Linked DNA regions of Homo sapiens: regions 1 and 3 are each linked to region 2. The links are contacts of gene promoters, found by promoter capture Hi-C in human tissues and cell types (Jung and others, 2019). All regions are on one chromosome and are shown on one strand. Each heading gives the region's core, a stretch centred on a gene start or on the middle of the fragment in contact. The rest is flanking DNA. Distances are from core to core; before and after follow the strand shown. Region 1 overlaps RNF130 (ring finger protein 130). Region 2 holds the start of RASGEF1C (RasGEF domain family member 1C). Region 3 has its middle 41 kb from the start of CNOT6.

Evidence for each region. Contacts are between HindIII fragments. The study calls those that stand out against the background at their distance.
Region 1: a fragment that was not itself captured here is called in contact with the fragment with the promoter of RASGEF1C in region 2 in 2 of the 25 tissues and cell types used here (H1 embryonic stem cells and dorsolateral prefrontal cortex).
Region 3: a fragment that was not itself captured here is called in contact with the fragment with the promoter of RASGEF1C in region 2 in 2 of the 25 tissues and cell types used here (H1 embryonic stem cells and pancreas).

Annotation. Positions count from the first base shown.
Region 1 is chr5:180,046,202-180,050,885 of GRCh38, reverse strand. The region is part of intron 1 of RNF130 (ring finger protein 130); the gene reads left to right. Among named protein-coding and RNA genes, the nearest start is that of RNF130, 23 kb to the left of the region's middle. The HindIII fragment of the contact is 4,639 bases long and covers 1-4,360 here.
Region 2 is chr5:180,207,292-180,211,863 of GRCh38, reverse strand. RASGEF1C (RasGEF domain family member 1C) reads left to right here and starts at 2,653. Exons shown (of 14, transcript NM_175062.4): 1 at 2,653-2,836. RefSeq lists a silencer at 2,518-2,737 and an enhancer at 3,862-4,572. The HindIII fragment of the contact is 4,624 bases long and covers 1,348-4,572 here.
Region 3 is chr5:180,451,758-180,455,994 of GRCh38, reverse strand. No RefSeq gene overlaps it. Among named protein-coding and RNA genes, the nearest start is that of CNOT6, 41 kb to the left of the region's middle. The HindIII fragment of the contact is 6,084 bases long and covers 1-4,237 here.

The sequences.
Region 1 (4,684 bases), core at 792-3,291, 160 kb after region 2:
CAGTGAGCTCTGATTGTGCCACTGCACTCCACCCTGGGCGACAGAGTGAAACCCTGTCTCCAAAAATAAAAATAAAAAGGACAGTGCAAGAACAACCCCGAAGTGCTGAGAGAAAATTAACAGTCTGGAATTTTTTACTTAATTAACCTGTCACTCAAGAATGAGAACAAAAGAAAGATGTTTTCAGATGTAAAATACAAGTTTACCTAACAGATCCTCATTGAAAGAACTTCTGAAGGATGTAGAATAAGGAGGAGGGAAATGGAACACAGAAGGAAAAAAGTGAGCTGTGAGGAGGACTGTGATGGTGAATTCTATGTTTCACCTTGACTGGGCCACAGGTGCCCACATACTTGGTCAGACAGTATCCTGAGAGAATTCTTGTGTTTCGGTCAGGGTGGTTTTGGACGAGGTTAACGTTTGAATGGGTAGACCGAATAAAGCAGATTGCTCTCCATAATGTGGGTGGGTCTTATCCATTCCACTGATGGCATGAATAGAACAAAAAAGTGACACTCCCTGGAGTCAGAGGGGTTTCCTCCTGCCTGACTGCCTTATGGCTGAGACCTTTGACTCTTGTGGGCGCGGAGCCTGCTGGTCTTTGGCCTGGAACTCCATCGGCTCTGCTGGGTCTCCAGCCTGCCAGCTCACCCTGCAGAGCTTGGGATTTGTCTGTCTCCATAATTGCCAGAGCCAATTCCTTATAATAAATCCCTTTGTATCTACATATCTGTATAAAGAAATAACTAGATAGAGCTAGACATAGGGAGAGTGGCCCTGCCTACACCTTGATTTTGGACTTCTGGCCTTCAGAACTGTGGGAGAATACATTTCTGTTGTTTAAGCCACCATGCTTGTGGTACTTTGTTCTGGCAGCCCTAGGAAACTAAGAGCCTTGAGGTATTCAGGAGGAGAATAGAGGTACTGATTAATTGTAGACCTTTTATCAGGTATGCATGTTAACATTTTAAGGGTAGGCACTAAAAAAATAGAACTTGAATATATAGATGAGGAAAAGGGGGAAATGAAATTCGGTCAATATATTCAGAGGCAGAAAGGAGAGGGAAAAAAAGTATAAAGAAGCTTAGAAAAGTAGAATAAATAAGAACACAATAAAATAATAGAGATGAATCCAGCTATATCATATACATATGCAAATAGACTAAGCGTGGCAGTTGAGACTCCTTTTGCAGTCTGATTTAACCTGTGGGCTGCTTCTCAGAATAGTGTTAAGTGCAGGAGTAAATAGGATTAAAGAAACCCAAGTATACTGAAACAATGTATCAAAGTATTTAAAATACTTAACATGTCTGTGACATGGTAATACTTGTACAGTTAACATTAGGGACAGGATTCAGTGGTGGGCCTAATCACCTTATCAGTATTTTGCAGTATTTGCAATAACTGTAATGTGGTTGCTGCTGGTTACAGAGTTACAGATGGTTTGTTATCTGTGTTTATAAATAAATAAAATGCTAGATTTCAGTTAGATTTTAGCAGAAATAAAGATGATTTCCCCTCATCCAAATGTCACTCAGCCCTGAATTCTATCCCCAGAGCCTTGTCAAGAATGCTTGCTGTAGCTGCTGATCTTCAAGTGGGGCTCTCCACTCCCAAATAGCTCATGTTTCCCTCGAGTGAGGGAAGGAGGCAGAGGGGTGGTACCTTAGCTGTCTCCCTGTGTCAAAGCGCTTGGAAACCAAAGAAGCTTTCTTTTTGGGTTTTGTCCTTTTTGGTGGGTTTGAATTGCCAAGTGTGGATTCTGATGAATTAAGAGCCACTGTATAAGGTTACCTTGAGGTTTGAAGTGAGCTGTTAATTGCCTACCAGCCTCTGCTTATTTAAAACAGAAAACAGAAACCTTATGTAATTCAGGCATCTGTGATCACTTCCATGCAGCCACATGCTTTAAGTGACACCTGTTTGAGTCCCAGAAGAGGGTGTGGGGCACAGAAGGATAAATGACCTAGGGTGAGCTGCACAGAAGTGAAGAGCTTAAATTACATACCTGGAGGGTTGGCTTTTTCTGTCTCCCACTGAATATGAACAGGGAGCTGTGTGACTTCATTTGCTGCTGGCAGTCATCTTATGATAAAGAGGGGACTCTTAGGATGAAGCTGAAGCTACAGATGGCAAAGGGAAGAGATGAAAAGGAACCAGATCCTGGTGACACTGCTGAGGTGCTGAATTCTTCACCGCAAAATACAGCCCTGTTCTGAGACAGGATAAATTCCCTCTTCCCGTTTTTGAGATAGCATCTCTCTCTGCCTCCCAGGGTGGAGTGCAGTGGCGCCATCCCAGTTCACTGTAGCTTTCAACTCCTGGGCTCAAGGGATTCTCCCACCTCAGCCTCCCAAAGTGCTGGGATTACAGGCATGAGCCACCGCACCTGGCCTCATTATTTTTAATCAATCTAAGTCATTGATTTTGTTACATGGAACACTGGTTCTTCCTATGTGAGTCAAGCAGAAATTGCCTAGATTCGGAGGTTAATCCTGTAGCCTTTGATAATAATATCATCCTCTAGCCTAGAAGCAGGGCAGAGCAACCTGGAAACAGACAAATTAGATACAGAGTGATTTGCCGTAAACCGGACTACAGACTCCCTTCCGTGCCCCTTCCATGTAAACCAGTTGAAATCTTGGAGAACTCCTATTAACTCATCAAGGCAGAGGTTTTGCTTGGAATGGAAGGGAATGAATTCCCTTCTGTGTGTGTAATTTTCCACTTTCCTCTCCCGATTCTTAGCATGCTGTTGACCTGATTTAGCTGTGTCTATTAGAAACTGGGTTCATAGAAGTAAAAATGAAAAATAATTTCTCAGAAGAGGGCTGCTCAGCATGAGATGTTAGTAAGCATTGTTGTTCCAATAAAAAAAAAAAAAGTGTGCTGTTGACATGGTGAACATGAACCCTGGAGAGTCCTGGGCCCACGCCAGGGAAGGCAGAGTACTCGGGAGCGTCAGTATTGAAGGTTCGACTGGAGGAAGAAGAGGCAGTAAAGACCCAAAGAATGACTGTGGTAGTGCAGGAGGAAAGCCTGGAGGAAGTGGGACGTGGGAGTGGAGAGAGGAGAGCGCTTGGCTGGGGCAGGCCAGTTTGGAGAACAAAGAGTGGCCTGAGATTTATTTTATTTATTTTTTTAGACAGAGTCTCACTCTGTCGCCCAGGCTGGAGTGGAGTGGTGCAATCTCGGCTCACTGCAACCTCTGCCTCCCAGGTTCAAGCAGTTCTTCTGCCTCAGCCTCCCGAGTAGCTAGGATTACAGGCCTACACACCACGCCAAGCTAAATTTTGTATTTTTAATAGAGACAGGGTTTCACCATGTTGGTCAGGCTGGTCTTGAACTCCCGACCTCAGGTGATCTGCCTGCCTTGGCCTCCCAAAGTGCTGGGATGACAGCTATGAACCACCACGCCGGGCCAGAAAAAAACATTTTCAATAAGACTAAACACCCAATGAAGCTAAGTAATAAAAAGAAATGTTAGGTTTAAGTGAAAGTGTAGAAGCAGTAAAATAATAAGTTATATCCATGGAAGTGGATAAAGAGAATGAAAGCTCCACCTAAGTCCAGTAGCTGCCATTAAAAATAAAATTAAGAAATTGATAACAGAAATGATGAATTGTATTTTTTCTTTGAATCATAAAATTAGAATTTGACAAAGGAAAATAAGGAAAGATAGGGTAGAAGCAGGAAATTTAAAGAATAAAGAAATTATAATCTAATTCAGGAGTAGGAAAGCAACCAGACCATAGCTGACAATGGAGGAATCTAAATCCGGGGTAACTAATTAGTCTCATTTTTATTTTTACCTCTTTTGTAGGAAGCAACTGATAGAACATTACCGTAGTCAGGATATTACCACGTGAAACAGAGAACTCTTTGCCACAAACTTTTTTTTAATGCCAGTTTTGGCTTAATTTCCCTGTTGTTTTTCCCCTTTTCCTTCATCAATCATGTTAAACATCTATGTGCCAGACATATTCGCAGGAGATGCTAGACCTCACATTCCGGAAGGAAAGCCTCAGAAGTAAACAGCCAGTTACTAATACAGTATGATAAATGCCAAGATGGATGTAACCTAAGGGTGCCATGGCAACTTGAAAAAAGCACCCAACTCAGTCTTAGGAGGCTGGGAAAGCGTTCTGGAGAAGACATTTTGGCAGAATCCTGAGGCTCAGAAGGTGGTGAGCAAGAGTGGTGGGACTGGCATTTCAGGAGGATGAAGTGACACACACAGGCTCTGAGAGGGAGAGGCACATCTTTGCCACTGTGCTGTGCGGCCGCCTGTTTTGACCATCACTGCAGAAAAATACTGTCCGAGGCTATCACTTCTGCCCCTGCAGCAGACTGACAATTCTCAGGGGTAGGAAGGAAACCCTTAGCCTACACAACATGGTGAGTGCTTCTTATGTGGCGTGTTTACATTTCTAAGAAATGAGGTTTTACTAAATCAAATGAATCAAAGAGGAGGAGAGTTTCAGACTGGTGGTGAGAGGTGACAACGTGCTAGCAGCCCCTGCTCGCTCTCGGTGCCTCCTCGCCTTGGTGTCTGCTCTGGCCACGCTTGAGGAGCCCTTCAGCCCACCACTGCACTGTGGGAGCCCCTCTCTGGGCTGGCCGAGGCTGGCCCTGGAGTTCTGCGTGGGTGTGAGCTTGGCGGGCCCTGCACCTGCCCCGGTCA
Region 2 (4,572 bases), core at 1,404-3,903:
GGCACTCCTGGGTGGGCTATGAGGGGGCGGGAGCAGATACCTCCCAGGGCCCAGTGGTGGCACCTGCAGCCAGGGTCCCACAAAGCTGGAGGCTCAGGGCAGAACTCCACGCTGGCCGCGAGGCTCAAAAACCTTCCTGGTGTTGCATGAGCCGCGACTGCAGCTCATGCGTCTTCCTCAGCACAGGCCCAACTCTCGGCAGCGATGGGTCTGGCAGGGAGAGGACGCAGGAGACCTCAGGGGACACGGTCTTCTCCTTTGTCCCAGAGCAAAGCTCTGCCACCCTCACCCCTGTGGGACACGGAGCTGTGGCCATGAGCTAGTCCACACCCATGTTCCAGTTGCCCTGGCCTCATCCAAGCATCCCCTACCCTGCTCCCAGCAGGGCAATCATGCTTCAGTGGCCCCAGCCACTTGCTGGAGAAAGTTCTTTATCAGGGGACAGCAGCCTTTGCTCACAGAGCAAGGGTGAGCTGGGGAAAGACTGGCCTCACCACCCTGACCTGCACTTGGTTAGGAGGGCCGCTCAGTGCTGCCCAGACCCCAGAACAACACAGCTGAGTGGGTCAGCTCTTCTGAGGTGCCTCTTGCGGCCTCTCCTCCTAGACTCCTGGCTTCCTCCAGGCGACACCCTGGGACTGGACCTGAGGCTTAGGGGCATAGGGTGATAATCGGAGAAGATGCAGGGAGGGCCCAGTGCCTGCACCCTGAGGCGCATCTGTCTATCTGCTGGGAGCACACTGCTCACCCCTGACCAAGTGCCTGCCTCTGTTCCTCCTCCCTTTCCCCACACCTGACCCTTGGTCTCAGATGTCACCCTCCCTAGGGCCAGCCTCTGGCCCTGGCCCTGGCCCCAGCCCTGCTGTCTCCCTGCCTAGCTACCTGGCCCACATTCATTCTAATACATCTGTATGCCCTAGGCAGCTGCCTGCTCTCTCCAGGACTCAGTTTCCCTAACTGTTCAAGAAATGGGCTGGACTGTTGTTCTTAACCTGTCCATTCTTCCAGGAACAGCCTTCACGGAAGCTTGGAACAGCACCTTACTCCATCCTCAAAGCTGACACAGGACTAACTCTGCCTCAGCTCTAGTGAGACGACACCCAGGCCTGCTATTCCTGCTCCCTAGGTCTTTGGAAATGGCCTGAGCTCAGCTCCTCGGAGCCTGTGTGTGGCAGCCGCAGGCTGTCCTTGCAACTATCAGGCAGCTGTGCCCTCTCTGAGGTGTCAACCCAGGGCCATTCTGCCACAGAAAGACTGGGAGATAGGGGAGGCCAGTTTCTATGCACATAGGTTAAGTACCTGGATCTAGCCATTCCTCTAAGCAGTAAACCTTGGCTTTTTATGATCCACAAACCAGCTTTTTGCTCAAGCTGGTTGGGTTGAGTTTTGGGCCACATCTCATCAGGCAGGTCCTGACTAAAGCAGAGTGAGGTGAAGGCAGCTGGAACTTCCGTGTCGGGTGGGGACTTGGAGAACTTTTCTGGCTAGCTAGAGGATTGTAAATGCACCAATCAGCACTCTGTAAAAACGCACCAATCAGCACTCCGTGAAACGGACCAATCAGCAGGACATGGGTGGGGACAAATAAGGGAATAAAAGCTGCCCGCCCACCCCTCGCCAGCCAGCAACAGCGGCGACCGGCTGTGGTCTTTTTCCCTGCTGTGGAAGCTTTGTTCTCTTGCTCTTCACAAGACATTTTGCTGCTACGCACTCTTTGGGTCTGCACCACCTTTTTCTTTTCTTTTCTTTTTTTTTTTTTTTGAGATGGAGTCTTGCTCTGTCGCCCAGGCTACAGTGCAGTGGTGCAATCTCTGCTCACTGCAAGCTCCACCTCCCCGGGTTCACGCCCTTCTCCTGCCTCAGCCTCCCGAATAGCTGGGACCACAAGCGCCCACCACCAAACCTGGCTAATTTTTTTGTATTTTTAGTACAGACAGGGTTTCACCGTCGCACCACCTTTAAGAGCTGTAACACTCACTGCCAAGGTCCCTGGCTCATTCTTGAAGTCAGCCAGACCAGGAACCCAGCGGAAGGGACAAACTGCGGACACAGGAGGACAGGTGTCCTGACCTCTATGCTGGGACCAACCAGGGAACTTTTCACTGAAGACCCAGTTCAAGGAGGCCACTGGATCCTGTTAGAGCCCCTCTCCCTTTCTAAAAGTGAAATCATGCATCGCCATCCTCCCAGAACCCCGGTGTCTTCAAAGTGGTGTCCACCCTCCCTGGGGGCCACGGGAGAGCGCCGAGAAGGTTGGGGAGGGGGGGTGTCCACCCAGGGATGTCCCATTGGGGGACACAGACAACCTAGGTGGCCAGTCCAGAGAACCGGGCCGGGCCCAGTCTTGAGGAGAGAGGGTGAACTGGGTTTTGGGGCGCCAGAGGCCCACCAGGTGAGGTGTAGGCTGGGGCAGCTGGGGCGCAGAGTCCGCCAGGGTCCGCGCGCGGGAGGGCAGCGTCTGACGGCCCGAGCGGGTGGTCCTGGCGCGGGGGGCCAGCCGCCGCGGAGGCCTGAACGCAGGGCGGGACGCTTGGCTCCGCGGCCGGGGCACGGAGGGCCCTGGTGTGCAGCGCCGCCCGCGGGCTCCCGCAGCTCCACCCCCGCGCCCCGCCCGCTCCGCGCTGCCTGAGTGCCACGAGGGGGCGCAGCGCCGCGTTGCTCCGGGGCCGCCGCCAGGCGCTCGTGCGGGCTGCGCTGGGAGCCGGGCGGTCGGGCGGCGGCGGCGGCGGCGGCGGCGGCGGCGGCGGCGGCGGGCGGCGCCCCGGTCCGCGGCGCCGAGGCTCGCACCGGGAGCTGCCCATGGGCCGGGCCCGGAGTTCCGGCGCGCCGGGAGCCGGTGAGTGGTGCGCGGCCGAGGGACACCTGGCGGTGCGGGCAAGGGCGCGGGCTCGCGGGGGCTGGGGAGGGCTGCCGGCGGCGCGGCGGGGTCGGCGGGAGGCGGGAGGCTGCGCGCGGCGCGGGAGCGTGCGCCGGGGTCAGCAGGGGCGGGGTCCGCGCGGCCGCCGGGACTGGAGGCGCGGGGGTAGCGGGTAGGGTACCCTGAGGGCACACCCCCGGCCACCTGGCGGGAGACCCAGCTCTGCCGCGCGCCGCCAGCCCCTGCTGGGCGCGAGGAGCAAGCTTCTTTCAGCCGCTAGAGTGGCAGGAAGAGCCAGCCTAGACCAAAGCCTCCACCCGCACCGGACCTCAGTTTCCCCGTCTATGAAATGGGGACGGGAAAGCAGACCTGCCGGTGCACGTGCAGAAGGGAAAGGGCCTTGCGCCTGGGGGAAGAGGGTGCTGTCACCCTTGAGGATGGGATCGGATTTGAGGAAAGGACCAGCGCCACTATCAGAGGGCCTGCGAGAACAGTGGGGTCTGCTGGGAGTCCTGGGTGTGTCCCTCACGCAGTGACAGCGGACGGCATCAAGGGACCACCTGGTCCACTCATTGTATTTAGATTGGGAAAGCGATGCTTGGGGGGACTTGGGGAAGGGTGCTGGCGACGCCGCCCCATGCTCAGCGTGGGCGTGGGAAACTGTGGGAAAGACAGAGCTGGGAAGTTGGGGTGCTGGTGGAGCTCTTCCGGGCCCGTATCTCCTGCCTCCTGGGGCTGTGGGAGAGACAGAAGTTCTGAGCCCCGGGAGCCTGAGAAGAGTCCTGGGAAGCTCTGCCTGCCAGGCAGGTGGAGTAACTGAGGTTTAGAGAGGGGCGGGACCATGGAGTGGCAACGCTGGGGTCCCACCTCTGGTAAGACTGGCTCCAACAGCCATAGTGCAGCCACTGTGCAGGCGACCGGTGGAGGGGGGCTAGGGTTGTCCACTCACTGGCCACATTCATTGAGCGCCTACTGTGTGCCGCCTGCTGCCTGCCCCCGTAAGTGCTCACTAGCTGGTGTGGGAGGGGACACCAAACAAGAAATCAAAGGCAAAAGCAAGGACATGGCCAAGATCTTATGCGTGCTGGGAAGAACATGCAGTAGGGTGACTGGGGCAGAGGGAGACCAGGGCGCGGCGGAGCCTTCGTCTGGTCAGGGAGGCTGTCCTGAGCGGGGAGCCCAGCCTGTGATGGACGGGTAGCCCGGGGGAACAGCGCGGGTGAGATCCCTGAGGGCAGGAGGGGGCGGAGCTGGAGCTGAGACGCTACAGGGTCTGGACGTCCTGGGCAGCCCCCAGGCGGTTTGCAGGTTGGGCGTCGAAAGGCTGCCCGTGGCGGCGGGTGGGCGCACTGCCGGGGCAGGAGAGGGAGGGCAGGCGAGAGAGGGACGGGCTGCGGAGCCCAGGGCGGGACTGGCGAGGGGGAGCCCGCAGGCCACCAGGTAGAGGTGGGGCCCTGCCCGGGACCTGGCCCTTTTCAGGCCGGGGTCTGCACCCTCCTGCCATGTCCCCGCCAGTCTCTGAGGTGGTTCCAGCTCTCACTTGTACCTGGACCCAGATCCAGAGTCAGCCATTTGTCCAAGGGGCCTTGGTTCCTTGCGTGGGACCCGGGCTTAGTGTGGGGCGTGCACTCGCCGCCTCTAGGCCTTGTCAGTGGACCAAGCCAAGGCCCCTTTTTTACTAAAAATTAATATTTCCTTTCCCTTTCTCCTGCAGT
Region 3 (4,237 bases), core at 1,662-4,161, 240 kb before region 2:
TCTTCTGCCTCCCAGAAAGGTGGGGGAAGTTGCAAAGGGAGTGGCCTCTGATCCTTTTGTTACTTGGGTGTGGAAAGTTGGGGTTTTCATTTTGATTCAATTCTAGGAAGTCAGAGCAAATTGGCCTTAGGTTCTCTGCCTCCAGACCCTATTCTCCTGCCTCAGTGAGACCCTGTCTCTACAAAAAAATACAAAACATTAGCCAGGTATGGTGACGTGCGCCTGTAGCCCCAGGTACTTGGGAGGCTGAGGCAGGAGGATTGCTTGAGCCCAGGAGATTGAGAGTGCAGTGAGCTGTGATTCCAACACTGCACTCTGATCTAGGGGACAGAGTGACACCCTGTCTCTAAAAGCAAACAAAAATGCCGGGAGCAGTGGCTCACACCTGTAATTCCAGCACTTTGGGAGGCCGAGGCGGGCGGATCACGAGGTCAGGAGATCGAGACCATCCTGGCTAACACGGTGAAACCCCGTCTCTACTAAAAATACAAAAAATTAGCCGGGCGAGGTGGCGGGTGCCTGTAGTCCCAGCTACACGGGAGGCTGAGGCAGGAGAATGGCGTGAACCCGGGAGGCGGAACTTGCAGTGAGCCGAGATCGCACCACTGCACTCTGGCCTGGGCGACAGAGCGAGACTCCGTCTCAAAACAATAACAACAACAACACAAACAAAATAAAAAGGGTACATCATTGGCCCAAGACTGTCACTTTTTACAACCTACCCGTTGGAAGTAATCCTTAAAAATTAAAACAAAATGTTGAAGAATTATACCAAGAACAGCAGTCTCTTCATTTCCTGTTGTTCTATTTCATTATTTAGGCATTAACTTCCATATCTCTAAATAGCAGCTTCTATTCTGCTTCTTGGTTGTTCCATTTTAAGCTGCATTTATTGTGTTTCCACAATCCAAGATGAAAATCAGGCTCTTTCCTTCCCGCTGTGTCCCTAACCCCCCCACCCATTTTTAATCCCTCATCTTCCCAAGTATATGCAGTTTTACTGGCATTTTGGCTAGATTGCTATTCCAGAGTAATGGCATTGTGACTATGTAAATGCTATTCACAGCTGAACCATGTGGTACTGTAATTACTTTCCATGTCATAGAACAGCTTTTGTCTGTACTAGAGGCAGTGACTGTCATCTATATCTCTATGTACTTATCACTATTTTTTTTTTTTTTGAGATGGAGTCTCACTCTGTTGCCCAGGCTGGAGTGCAGGTGGTGCCATCTCGGCTCACTGCAGCCTCCACCTCCCGGGTTCAAGTGATTCTCCTGCCTCAGCCTTCTGAGTAGCTGGGATTACCAGCACTTGCCACCACGCCTGGCTAATTTTTGTATTTTTAATAGAGACGGGGTTTCATCCCATTGGCCAGGATGGTCTGAAACTCCTGACCTCAGGAGATCCAACTGCCTCAGCCTCACAAAGTGCTGGGATTACAGGTGTGAGCCACTGCACCCGGCCACTTTTCACTAATTTTATCCCCAAACTTTTCCCTGGTGAGATAAATCTACTTTCAATTGCATAAAAACACATTGGATGCCTTTGCAGATTTAACTTATTGAGGAACTCTCTTCTGAGGACTCCTGCTTTGCTCGTCTGGATGGGTGGCCCTCGTGCCTGGTACTAGCTTTCACTCAGGTGCCTCCTGTCACCATCCCCCAGGGCCTCTCCTTTGCCTCACTCCTGAGCTAGAGCCTCTCTTTCTTGGACTCTATGACTCCTCTTTTCTGTTTTTTCCCCCCACTGTGTTATTAACACATTCCATAGTAGCTTCTAGAAACCAGAAGCATGGGAGATAATTATTTTGAGAACCTGTATGTCTGCAAATGTCTTTAATCTACCCTTATACATGATTGGTGGCTTTCTAGGATATACACATCTAAGTTGGGAGTGTTGTTTTTCCCTATAATTCTGAAGATGCTTGCTTCCTTCCAGAGCTGTTGTGAAGACATCTGAAGCATTCTGATTGATCTTTCTTTCATGGAAGCTGTTTTTTTTCTTTCTATCTGGGAGCATATAAAATATGTGCTTTTCATTCAATGAGCTAACATTTCCTAGTGATGTGCTTTAGTGTTGGTGTGTTTTCATCCGTTGTGCAGAGCACTTGTTCTGGGCAGTGCTTTTTTTTATTCTCGAGGCTTAGGCTTCTGGTAGCTTCTTGACTATTTATTTGGTATCTCTGGCTCCTGTTTTCTCTGAAACTCCTGTTATTCAGATATTAGACTTCTTGCACTGGATTAGAAATTTTAAAATCTTTTGTGCCCCTCATATTTTCCATCTGTCTGTTGACCTTTATATTTTTGTGATGTTTTTCTTTTCTGAGATGGAGTCTCGCTCTGTCTCACCTAAGCTGGAGTGCAGTGGCGCGATCTCAGCTCATTGCAGCCTCTGTCGCCCGGTATGTCTGGAGTTGGTTCCTTCCGGTGGGTTCCTGGTGTGGCTGACTTCAAGAACGAAGCCGTGGACCTTCAAGGTGAGTGTTACAGCTCTTAAAGATGCCATGACCCAAAGAGTGAGCGGTAGCAAGGTTTATTGTGAAGAGTGAAAGAACAAAGCTTCCATAACTGGAAGGAGACCCAAAGGGTTGCTGCTCCTGGCTGGGGGGATGGCCACCTTTTATTCCCTTATTTGTCCCCGCCCATGTTCCGTTTTTGTCCTATCAGAGTGCCCTTTTTTCAATCCTCCCTGCAATTCACTACTTTTAGGATCCTGCTGATTGGTGCATTTTACAGAGCACTGATTGGTGCATTTTACAGAGCACTGATTGATGCATTTTACAATCCTCTTGCTAGCTACAGAGCACTGATTTGTGCGTTTTTACAGAGCACTGATTGGTGCATTTTACAATCCTCTTGCTAGCTACAGATCACTGATTGGTGAGTTTTACAATCCTAGCTACAGAGTGCTGATTGGTGCATTTTACAATACTCTTGTAAGAGAGAAAAGTTCTCCAAGTCCCCACTCCACCCAGGAAGTCCAGCTGGCTTCACCTCTCACTGGGTTCAAGCAGTTCTCCTGTCTCAGCCTCCCTAGTAGCTGAGACTACAGGCGTGTGCCACCAGACCCAGCTAATTTTGTATTTTATTTATTTATTTATTTATTTATTTATTTATTTATTTATTTTTGAGACTGAGTTTCACTCTTGCTGCCCAGGCTGGAGTGCAGTGGTGTGATCTCGGCTCACTGCAACCCCGCCTCCCAGGTTCAAGTGATTCTCTTGCCTCAGCCTCCTGAGCAGCTGGGATTACAGGCGTGCACCACCACGCCCAGCTAATTTTTTGTATTTTTAGTAGAGACGGGGGTTTCACCATGTTGGCCAGGCTGGTCTTGAACTCCTGACCTCAGGTGATCCACCCGACTTGGCGTCCCAAAGTGCTGGGATTACAGGCGTGAGCCACTGCACCCGGCCCATGTTTTTATTTTCTAAAAGCAGTTTTTTTCTCTGTCGTTTCTCACCCTTTTATTTTATTTTTATTTATTTATTTACTTATTTAGAGACAGAGTCTTCCTCTGTCACCCAGGCTGGAGTACAGTGGTGCAGTCTCAGCTCATTGCAACCTCCACCTCAGCTTCAAGTGATTCTTGTGCCTCAGTCTCCCGAGTAGCTGGAATTACAGGCGTGCACCACCACGCCCGGCTAATTTTTGTATTTTTAGTAGAGATGGGGTTTCACCGTGTTAGCCAGGCTAGTCTCAAACTTCTGACATCGTGATCTGCCTGCATCGGCTTCCCAAAGTGCTGGGATTACAGGTGTGAGTCACCACGCCTGGTCTCACTCTTTTATTAAAATATAAAATTCTGTTCTTGAATCATGGATGCACTACCTCCCTGGGGATATTAATAAGAGGCTTATTTTTAAAGCCTTTCTTTCCATGTGTGGTTTCTGCCTCATTCAAGCTCTTGTTTGTTTGTTTGCCTGTTAGTTTTGGTCTCTAGACTTGACATAAGAAGCTTTCCTCAAATGTGTGGTAATCTTTAACAATCCATTCACATTCAGCCATGGGGAAAAATAGGATGGAGGATTTTCAGTTCTAGCCATGACAGAGAAACAAGAGTTGGATTCAGCTTTGTGTTTTAGGCAGCAGTAATACTGTAGAAAATATATGGAGTAAAACTACAGAAATGTGACTTTGAAAGAAGAGAAACACATGTGATAAGCTCCATATTACTCCCAGCTCTCTGCCTGGGAGAACTTTCCAAACAATAAACTGTGGCTGAGACAGGAGGCATTGGC